Regions from separate parts of the Homo sapiens genome. Here all the other regions are linked to region 1. The links are contacts of gene promoters, found by promoter capture Hi-C in blood cells and fetal thymus (Javierre and others, 2016). All regions are on one chromosome and are shown on one strand. Each heading gives the region's core, a stretch centred on a gene start or on the middle of the fragment in contact. The rest is flanking DNA. Distances are from core to core; before and after follow the strand shown. Region 1 holds the start of H3C11 (H3 clustered histone 11). Region 2 holds the start of BTN1A1 (butyrophilin subfamily 1 member A1). Region 3 holds the start of ZNF322 (zinc finger protein 322).

What was found. Contacts are between HindIII fragments. The CHiCAGO score rates a contact against its expected background, and 5 or more counts as called.
Region 2: the fragment with the promoter of BTN1A1 here is called in contact with the fragment with the promoter of H3C11 in region 1 in 2 of 17 cell types (monocytes and M0 macrophages); the score reaches 8.7 in monocytes.
Region 3: the fragment with the promoter of ZNF322 here is called in contact with the fragment with the promoter of H3C11 in region 1 in 1 of 17 cell types (monocytes); the score reaches 12.4 in monocytes.

Annotation. Positions count from the first base shown.
Region 1 is chr6:27,870,629-27,873,925 of GRCh38, reverse strand. H3C11 (H3 clustered histone 11) reads left to right here and starts at 1,580. Exons shown (of 1, transcript NM_003533.3): 1 at 1,580-2,081. The coding sequence starts at 1,611. The coding sequence ends at 2,021. It overlaps H4C13 (H4 clustered histone 13), which reads left to right and starts at 392. Exons shown (of 1, transcript NM_003546.3): 1 at 392-778. The coding sequence starts at 416. The coding sequence ends at 727. RefSeq lists enhancers at 112-161, 242-411, 712-761, 193-830, 2,746-3,297. The HindIII fragment of the contact is 2,761 bases long and covers 1,323-3,297 here.
Region 2 is chr6:26,498,464-26,501,760 of GRCh38, reverse strand. It overlaps BTN1A1 (butyrophilin subfamily 1 member A1), which reads right to left and starts at 1,458. Exons shown (of 8, transcript NM_001732.3): 1 at 1,403-1,458; 2 at 396-531; 3 at 1-171. The coding sequence starts at 474. The region is part of intron 1 of LOC107986583 (a long non-coding RNA gene); the gene reads left to right. RefSeq lists an enhancer at 40-169. The HindIII fragment of the contact is 5,298 bases long and covers 1-3,297 here.
Region 3 is chr6:26,658,272-26,661,568 of GRCh38, reverse strand. It overlaps ZNF322 (zinc finger protein 322), which reads left to right and starts at 1,823. Exons shown (of 4, transcript NM_024639.5): 1 at 1,823-2,128; 2 at 2,923-3,011. RefSeq lists enhancers at 1,413-1,612, 1,633-1,692, 1,392-1,892, 1,923-2,112, 2,123-2,172 and 1 more. The HindIII fragment of the contact is 5,113 bases long and covers 1-3,297 here.

The DNA of each region.
Region 1 (3,297 bases), core at 331-2,830:
TACGGAAGCAGTTTCTACACGCTATTTCACAAATGCCCGAAACGACTGTGATTACCCCTCTAGAGATGGCGCCATTTGATTCCAGCAGCCACAAAGCACTAGAACAATCGATGCTAAGAGGTGACAGGAAAAACAGGCTGCAAAGACCCAGACAATGGAATGCAGCGGTGGTCAGCCTAAAACACTGTAGAAGGGCAAGATGAGCTGAGTAATTTTTAACTGGGCATCATTTTTAGAAACTGGAGTTTAAGTACCCCCTTTTCCATTTTTTCCTGAAGTCGTGGGCAGGGCGCAAGGTCTGTGAATCGGCCGACCGGATGCAGCTGGTGTGGAGAGTTCCCAATCAGGTCCGATTTATTACTATATAAAGTACTGCTGCGAGGCTTGCCGTGTTGCATTTTGTTTAGTACAAGACATGTCTGGGCGCGGCAAAGGCGGGAAGGGTCTGGGCAAAGGAGGCGCTAAGCGCCACCGCAAAGTTCTGCGCGACAACATTCAGGGCATCACCAAGCCCGCCATCCGACGCCTGGCACGGCGTGGAGGCGTTAAGCGCATCTCAGGCCTTATATACGAGGAGACACGCGGAGTTCTTAAAGTGTTTTTGGAGAATGTAATCCGCGATGCAGTTACCTACACGGAGCACGCCAAACGCAAGACAGTCACAGCCATGGACGTGGTTTACGCGCTCAAGCGCCAGGGCCGCACCCTGTATGGCTTTGGCGGCTGAGTGTTTTACTTACTTACACGGTTCCTCAAAGGCCCTTCTCAGGGCCACCCATGAAGTCTGTGAAAGAGCTGTAGACTAAAGATAGTTAATTTCTTAAGAACACTTAAACGTATGGCAGTTTTGGCAAATTAGCGATTCCACATAAGCAGTCGCTGAAGTTTGAGGTTCGGTGCCCCTTTCAGCATTACTTAGTGGTTAAAAGTGCCGGCTTCTCTGATACACGGCCAAATCTATAACGCCTCTCTGGTTTTTGCAAAAGTCATAATGAAACAGCCGGTCTCATTTATCTTGTATCGATTACTTTACCGCTACCAATGCGAGGGCTGTGTAACTATGACACTGTGGTCCGCAACGCCCAAAATGTTTTAATATCGCCCTTTACAGAAAAAGTCGGCCAACTTCTAAAACATTAAGTACGTTTAAATTTGAGAAATACTGGCATACCACAACGCTCGAATTTCATATCCCCTTCAATGCCTCCATTTACAAATTTACTCTAGTTTCACTTTTCCTTTACGTTCTTTAACTTTTTGTCAAATCAGTAATGACACCTCGTAATTAAAATAGTGCAAGGCAAGTTTAGATTTATCAAGCTTATATTTAAACAGGATTTTGATGCATGAAAAATCCTAGACTTTTGGGGGATTTTTTTTTGTTTCCGTTTTTGTTTTTCTTTAGCTAGCAAAACCATTTTACGTTTCTTGACCCAAAACAGAGGCGGAATGTCTCCCTTTCACTAGCAGATTAAACTGGGAGCCAATTCCGTGTGTGAGACGTGGCATGGCACAGTCTACTGTCCAATCAGAACGCGAGGGCAGCTATAAATACCGGGATGATCAGTTTTTTTCTCTCATTTGTGTTGAGTAGGTACGTCTACTTAGCCATGGCACGAACAAAGCAAACAGCTCGCAAGTCCACCGGCGGCAAAGCGCCGCGCAAGCAGCTGGCCACCAAGGCGGCTCGCAAGAGCGCTCCGGCCACCGGTGGCGTCAAGAAGCCCCACCGCTACCGCCCCGGCACCGTGGCCCTGCGCGAGATCCGCCGCTACCAGAAGTCGACCGAGCTGCTAATCCGGAAGCTACCTTTTCAGCGCTTGGTACGGGAGATCGCACAGGACTTTAAGACCGATCTGCGCTTCCAGAGCTCGGCGGTGATGGCGCTGCAGGAGGCTTGCGAGGCCTACCTGGTGGGGCTATTTGAGGATACCAACCTGTGCGCCATTCACGCCAAACGCGTCACTATTATGCCTAAAGACATCCAGCTTGCGCGCCGCATCCGAGGGGAGAGGGCATAAATATTCCTATCAGCCCAAGAAGTCTGTCCAACCCCAAAAGGCTCTTTTCAGAGCCCCTCAATTGTCACCAAAAGGAAGCTGTAGCTTTTGAGACGTGTCTTAGCTCCATGTTAAATACAAGCTGTGGACAAAACGTGGTAGTGGCCCAACACACTATAATGCAGGAGTCAGGTCACAGGCTGTTGGTATGCTAAATCAATTTCACATACAGAACCTGTTCCTACTGATAAGGATTATCACTCAAAAAAGACATGTCATGGGGTCAATTTTACAGATGAAGTTTAGTTTTGAAAAGTATTCCTGTTTTTATCCTTGAGGAATGTGTCTCCTGCGTATCTACCTGCCCCTACTGAAGGGAACAAGTAGCACAATGAGTGTCCACAGGCTCTGGTGAGGCCGAGGCAGGCGGATCACAAGGTCAGGAGATCAAGACCATCCTGGCTAACACGGTGAAACCCCCCTGTCCACTAAAAAAAAGACTGCCGGCCGTGGTGGCACGCGCCTGTAGTCCCAGCTACTCGGGAGGCTGAGGCAGGAGGATCGCTTGAACCTGGCAGGCAGAGGTTGCAGTGAGCCGAGATCGCGCCACTGCCCTCCAGCCTGGGCTACAGAGCGAGACTCCGCCTCAAAAATACAAAAAACAACAGGCTCTAAAAACTACACACATGAGAGTGGAACAATAGACAATAAGGACTCAGAAGGGAGGAAAGAATGAATGATAAGTTACTTAATTGGTACAATGTAAGCTATTTAGCTCTTGTATAGCCCATGTAACTTGACCACCTTGGAGCATATGCACATAACAAAGTTGCCATCGTACCCCATGCAAGTAACAGTTTTGACAAAAAGCTCGACACTTTTGTTCTGTTTCAATGTAATGTTTAGCAAGCCATGTGTTAGGTAGTGGGCCTCTGAGGAGGGATACTTTAACCTACTGCATGCTGTCATCTATGAAATGAACTTCTAGCTCTAAGTGGACCTTAAAAAATATTTTCCTGTCATTTCACCATATGCTTGTCATAGACTGTGGAGTTGGATTTTCATGAGATTTTTTCTTTCTTTTTTTTTTTCAGAGAGAATCAGTCTGGGTATTAAACTTCAAGTGGTATTTTAAAGCTCTTCCTGGTTTCTAACCAAACTTTTCCATTATTTCCAGCTGTTTTAGAGTTTCCTCATGTGCTCTACATATGTGACTATCATGACCTCATTTTGCTCTTAAACTTTTTGAAGCACACATCTTGACCTAGGAGATATCTGGCAGAGATGTGAAGGCAAT
Region 2 (3,297 bases), core at 209-2,708, 1.4 Mb after region 1:
CCTGCTCGCGCCCGTCCCTATGCACCAGCACGGCCGGCGAAACCTTCTTTCGGAACCAGCGTAGCTCCAAGTGCTCGGCGCTCGCGTTCGGAGACAGGCGACAGGGCAGCTCGGCGTCCTCACCCACAACGGCCAGGATGGGCTCCGGGGGTCCAATCACGTCAAAGGGAGCTGCCGAAAAACGAGCGGGATCAGACGGGATGTGGAGATGGGAACTACGGACAGACACCGACCAGATTCCCGCCAAAGCGCAGTGCCCCGCGCTCTCTTACTCCTTTGACAGCTGAGTTTGTCTGGATCCAGTGGAGGTCTCCAGGGAGAGCCAAGTGGGATTGTTTATTTTACATTTATTGATATATTTCAACTATGCAGCCCAGAGAGAGAGAGAGACTTACCTGAATCCAGTTTGGGCAGCTGGAGGAGAATGAGGGTGAGCAGACATCTGGGGAGACCGGAGCTTGGGAAAACTGCCATCTCCCACCCTTCTGGAGCAGCAAGATAACTGATGTGAGTCCCCTCAGGAGCTTCAGCCTAGGAGATGAATGGACAGGAGACAACTACCGGCTCTGTCAACCCTCCGCTTTCCAAAGTCCTCTCTACAGTTCTTTCCAGCTGCAAGTGTTCTGGTCATTTGCCCCTGAAACCTCCTCTCAGCCTCCATCCCCAGTATGGATTTTTAGTTTACACTGTGGTTATCACCTTCCCACCCACTACTCTAACTCTAAAACTTAGGAGAAGGGAACTGTGAGGCATAACACTCATTAGTTGGTTGCATATCGATGAACAAATCTTGGAATCACTGCACTAAAAAAAAAGTCTCCTTTTTATTTATTTATTTATTTATTTTTGAGACAGTCTTGCTCTGTTGCCCAGCTTGGAGTGCAGTGGCATGATCTCGGCTCAATGCAACCTCAGCCTCCTGGGTTCAAGCGATTGTTCTGCCTCAGCCTCCGGAGTAGCTGGGACTACAGGCGCGCACCACCATGCCCCGCTATTTTTTGTATTTTCAGTAGAGACGGAGTTTCACCACGTTGGCCAGGCTGGCCTCGAACTCCTGACCTCGTGATCCACCCGCCTTGGCCTCCCAAAGTGCTGGGATTACAGGCGTGAGCCACCGTGCCTGGCCAAAGTCTTTTTTCAAATACAAGAATTTGGTATTTGCTTTTGGCAATGATAATAAAGATAAGGGTATAAAGGCAGAAATGGAGTCCAAGGAAATGAATTGGAGAAGAGAGAAAAGATGGGAGGAGATGGAGCAAGAAGCAGGAGCTGAAGCAAGCAAAAGGGCTTGAAGAGTAGAGGGCCTAGGACCAAGGAGAAAGGAGCTGGAGGGAGAGAAGTATGCTATGCCCCTCTGGCTGCTCACTCCCTCAGGGAGCTGAGAGTAACCACACATACTGACCTGGGTGATCTTGGAGAAAAAGGCACAAGAGGCCACTGCTACCAAGTGAGAAAGCTGGCTGTGGCCCCCGGGGCAAAAGTTAAAAGCCAGCAGGAAAAGGAAGCGGGAGGTGCTCTCAGGAAAGCCTGCCTCCAGGTGGCCTGGTATATTCACTCTGAGGAAAAAAAAAAGGGAGATGAAAAGTTTTTCAGAGAGATGGAAAACTGGATTTGTGGTCTTCAGCTCAGAAATCAAGATATGCATTGATGAGCTGGACCAAATGAAAGGCAGAAAAGAGAAAAAGAGAAGAGAGGCAAGGAAACACACAAATGAGATGTGATGGCTTCAGCCAGTTATTTCCTCTTTCCAAGCCTCAGTTCTTTGATCTCTAAAATGGTAATAATATTGATCATACCTTTCTTGAAGAGGTGTTGGGAGGATTAAGTGAGATTAAGCAGGTAAAGTGCTTAGCACATAGTAGGAACTCAGCGGAGGATAAATTGTTATTCTATTATTATTTCTGCGGGTTGAAAAATGAAAGCCCAGAGGCCAAGGTAGCAGTAGCCTCTGTCTATAGCCATCTTCGTTATTGGAGCGTCCGTCCACCTTAGGTGCTGTGTCTGTTGGAACAACTCCATTAAAGGCCAGTCTTAAGGGTAGGCTGTGAATTCTGTTTACAGGGCCCAAAAGTTGCCTCCCTGACAATTATTTCTTTTGAAGCAACTCATCATGAGGCCTACAATTCCTTAATTTATACTAAACCTACCTCTCATTGTTATGAAAAAATTTAAAAATACAGAAAAATATTTTTATAAAATGGAGGTCACACTTAATCTACTAACTAATGATAGCCTCAATTCACATTTTGGCATAGTCCTTCCAAGATTTATTTTATGCTTATGTATATCATAAAAGCAATCAATTAGACTTTTTGTGTAACTCAAAATATTGTTAATAGTTGTATAATTGCCATGATTGTGGGACATTTGGGATTTTTTTCCTATTGTAAATAATACACTTTATATATAAGTCTTTATTTGCAAATTGGATAATGTCCTGATAAACTGTTTAATAAATTTCCAGAAATAGAGTCATCAGATCAAATGGTATAAGCATATTTCTTTTCTTTTCTTTTTTTTTTTGAGACGGAATCTCACTCTGTCGCCTAGGCTGGAGTGCAGTGGCGTAATCTTGGCTCACTGCAACCTCCGCCTCCAGGGTTCAAAGGATTTTCCTCTTGCCTCAGCCTCCTGAGTAGCTGAGATTACAGGCACGTGCCACCATGCCCAACTAATTTTTGTATTTTAGTGGAGACAGGGTTTCACCATGTTGGCCAGGCTGGTCTCGAACTCCTGAGCTTCAATGATCTGCTTGCCTTGGTCTCCCAAAGTGCTGGGATTACAGGTGTGAGCCACCATGCCCGACCTAGTATCAGCATATTTCTACAGTCCCTTCCTGAAATGTTGAATCCATCACACCCTCAATGGAGGTGCCCTCACCTAATCCCTGCTAGCACTGAGAAGTTATTATTTCACATCCTTACTATTGGGATGGGTCAAGTTAATTAAATTATTATTTATTGTGCCTTTATATGTTAGCGAGGCTGGAGTTTTTTATGTGTTAATTAGACATTTAATACATTCTAGAAATGAGCTGTTCAGGCCAGTTGCCCATTGTTTTCAAGACTGGTCCTGGTGCTAGTTCTTAGCAATCTGTGTGAATTTTAATAACTTAAAAATATCAATCCTGTATTATATTTGTAACAAACATTCTTCCCAGTTTTGTTATTTATCTTTGAGTTGGAATTGTGATTAAGACAAAAGACAGTTGCTCCATTTCACCCACCAGACTGCCAAGAGAATGATCTTTCCCAAATGCAAATCTGATCATATCACTTTTTGCTTAAAAATCCTTCC
Region 3 (3,297 bases), core at 574-3,073, 1.2 Mb after region 1:
CTTACAAAGTGCTTCACCTCTATGCCCCCAGATGACCTTATACAACTTCTACCTCTACCACACCACCTAAAACCCCTGCCGTCTCCATACCAGACTGTGAGCCATTAAAGGAGTGGTATTGAGTCTCACTGGCCTTTAATTCCTAACACACAGCATAGTGTCCTGTTTTTTTGGTTTTTGTTTCTTTTTGACATGGAGTTTCACTTTTGTTGCCCGGGCTGGAGTGCCCTTGGCTCACTGCAACCTTCACCTCCCAGGTTCAAGCGATTCTCCTGTCTCAGCCTCCCAAGTAGCTGGGATTACAGGCATGCGCCACCACGCCTGGCTAATTTTGTATTTTTAGTAGAGACAGGGTTTCACCATGTTGGTCAGGCTGGTCTCAAACTCGCGACCTCAGGTGATCCACCCGCCTCAGCCTTCCAAAGTGCTGGCATTACAGGCGTGAGCCACCGTGCCCGGCCTATGGTGTCCTGTTAATTGGAGGTGCTCAATAAATGTTTAACTGAATAAAACAATTAATAAAGAGTACTTTGGGCCAATGTATCCTGAAAGAAAAGGTTGAACAGTTCAATTCTACACATATTCAGACCTTGTTATATGCAGTGCAGAGATCAGAATCCAACTTGCTTAATTTTTATTCCAATAATTTTACACAATACACTCACCACTATTGAGGTAGCCATAAGTATAGTGACTGCAAGCACAGAATCTGGCATCAGACTGTTCACATTACAGCTTCATCAGTAATATGTGATCCTGGGCAAGCTACTTAATCTCTCTGTGCACCAGTTTCCTCCTAAAAGAATACATATCTCACACGATTTTTGTTACAACTGAATGAGACAATAGTGTAAAGTTATTAGAACAGTGTTTGATACATGCTACACACTCAAAATGTTATTATTCAAAATATTAAGACAACCCTGAGTGGAATATTTTGACCTTGAAAGTTTCATTAAAAATAAACATGAAAGTAGAATAAGCTGTAGACCCTCTGCGGAAGAATTCCACTAGTAGGAACATGATTAGTTAATACTGAATACGTGTCTCAGAGACTGCGCTCCCCAATTACTAAACCTCAGCAACTGGCTCACAATCCAAGTCCTTGGCCAGGCTGCCCAGGGTTTAGTTTTCCATATTCCTACTACTCATCTTTTCCCTTTGATAGCTGAGGACATTTAAAAACTGTTTTTTGTTGGTTTGTTTTTTTTAATTTAACAATTGAGCTGGGAGAATACCCAGTGTTCAACCTAAAGAACTGAGTTCTGTTCCAGCCCCACCACTAGGTGATTTACTCTTAGCTGATTCCAAATCAGAAACATAATCAGCAAGGACTGGGGAACCTCCCACAGTACTTTCTCTCGCTGCTGTTTTCTCCACCCACACAAGTCCACCACTTTTAAAAGCATTTCTTCCATCTCGCTGGCCACATCTTCGTGGATGACAGCGCTGCCACTGTGCTTCAGAATCCTCTATCTCTCCCAGATCTTTCCTGGTGTTTCTCTCAGGGTCAGTGGCATCTAATCTTTGTGACTCTACTCCTGGTTTGAGTCCTCGGTTAACAGCCTTGGGGAAACTGTAACATAAACTGCAACGCTGTTGGTGCCGTTTCTTCTTAGACAGGGTGGCAGCGATCGCCTCCCCCCGCAGCCGGCCTTCCACTGCGCCAGCAAGACCCCCTCCCACCAAAACGCCGAGGGCTCCCAGAGCGCAGGCGCCCCGGGCCCCGCCCCTTTCCGAAGACTCGGCTCCTATTGGCCCAGGGGCCGGGGTTGGAACGCCCTAGTGGCCGGAGAGGGGTGATCATGTGACTTGCGGGGGTGGGGCTGCGCCGGCCTCTTCCCAGCCAGCTTGAAAGGGTTTGCGTAGCCGGCCTTGTGGGCCCTTGAAGCGCTCTGTTAAAGCGCTCTGTGGGCGGCCTGGCCCCAACTCCTCTAGTCTAGGCGCACGAAGGGAGTTGCTCCTAGGTCTTGTCCGTGCCGGGTTCGCTTTTCTTTCCTTCCCGAAGCCTGGCCCTTAGATCTACTATCGCAGAGTCTGCGGCCGCCAGGAAGCCCAGATTCGAGTGTCCGGAGAGTAACCGGAAGTGCTGTCCCCAGGCCTAGGGGCGGCGCCGGCGGCTGCCAGGGTAAGCGCGGCCTGCGGGGCCCAGGGGTGGGATGGGTGCGCGGTGGGACCCAAGACCCACGGCCACAGTCGAGTGGGAGCAGCCCCTGTTCCTGGACACTGAGCATGGTCTGGTCTCCGCTGACGGCGGACGGAGGACTGAAAGATGGTCAATGAAAAGTTGAAAGAAGAGAACCTTAGTACGGTAGTTCCTAGAGATAGTAAACACTGCAAGGCACTTTTCAAAGCAATATAATCTTTCATATATATCGAGGAAAAAAAGGACCTTGAATGGATTTTTCGCTTCATCTTCAGTGCAGAAATTAGTTATGTTGCAGTTGAATCTATCTGCAGAAAAATCTGGTTTGTTTAATCTTCCTATAACCATTTCTTTTTGGAAAATGGAATTACAGATAACTTTATATTATATACACTTATCACATGCACTTTGGGGTTTGTAGTGGTAGACGAATGGGTCTTTGATCTTAGGAGTTGAGATAATACAAACAAAAACAATTAGCAGAAGGAGAAAAAACAAACGAAAAACGAGGCTTAGGGCTTTGTTATGAAGTTACAGTTAGTAATAGAAAGATTCTTGACATTTTGTCTAGAGCTGGTCGGAACTGATGGCTACCAGTGGCAGGTACTTCCTGCAGGAGAAACAGTGTAAGCAAAGATGGGAAGAGGTAAGCTATGGTTGAAGGATGCTCACTAGAATGGAGAGGAAATGGGACCAGTTTTCTAGGCCAGCTCTAGAAAAATTATGAATTATAAATTTCACAAGGTCATCGTCTACATTATTGATTTTTCCTCTAGGAGAGGCAAGAATTGAGTGTTGTGAATAGTTCTGAACTAGAGACCTTTTGAAACCAAAAGGAAGATGGTCTTGAGTCTTTCTTGTTACGGTAAGTGGTATACCAGGCTCTGTTTCTGTATAAATGTGGATGGGGGTGTGGGGTGGGGCAGGGTGAAAGACAGGAAAGTATGGGAGAAGATATATGGAAAAAGAGAATGCCCCTTTCTTAGCTCCTAAGATAGCAGAGTGATAAAACTGAGCCCTATCCTACCAACTTAAGGCTATTTTCTACTCCTTTTCAACATGCATGCATATTCACATTAGGCTTGCAGTAATTGCTTTTTGATTGATTTGTAGCACAAAGAGGGTAGTATGCCTAATGCTTAGGCAGGCTC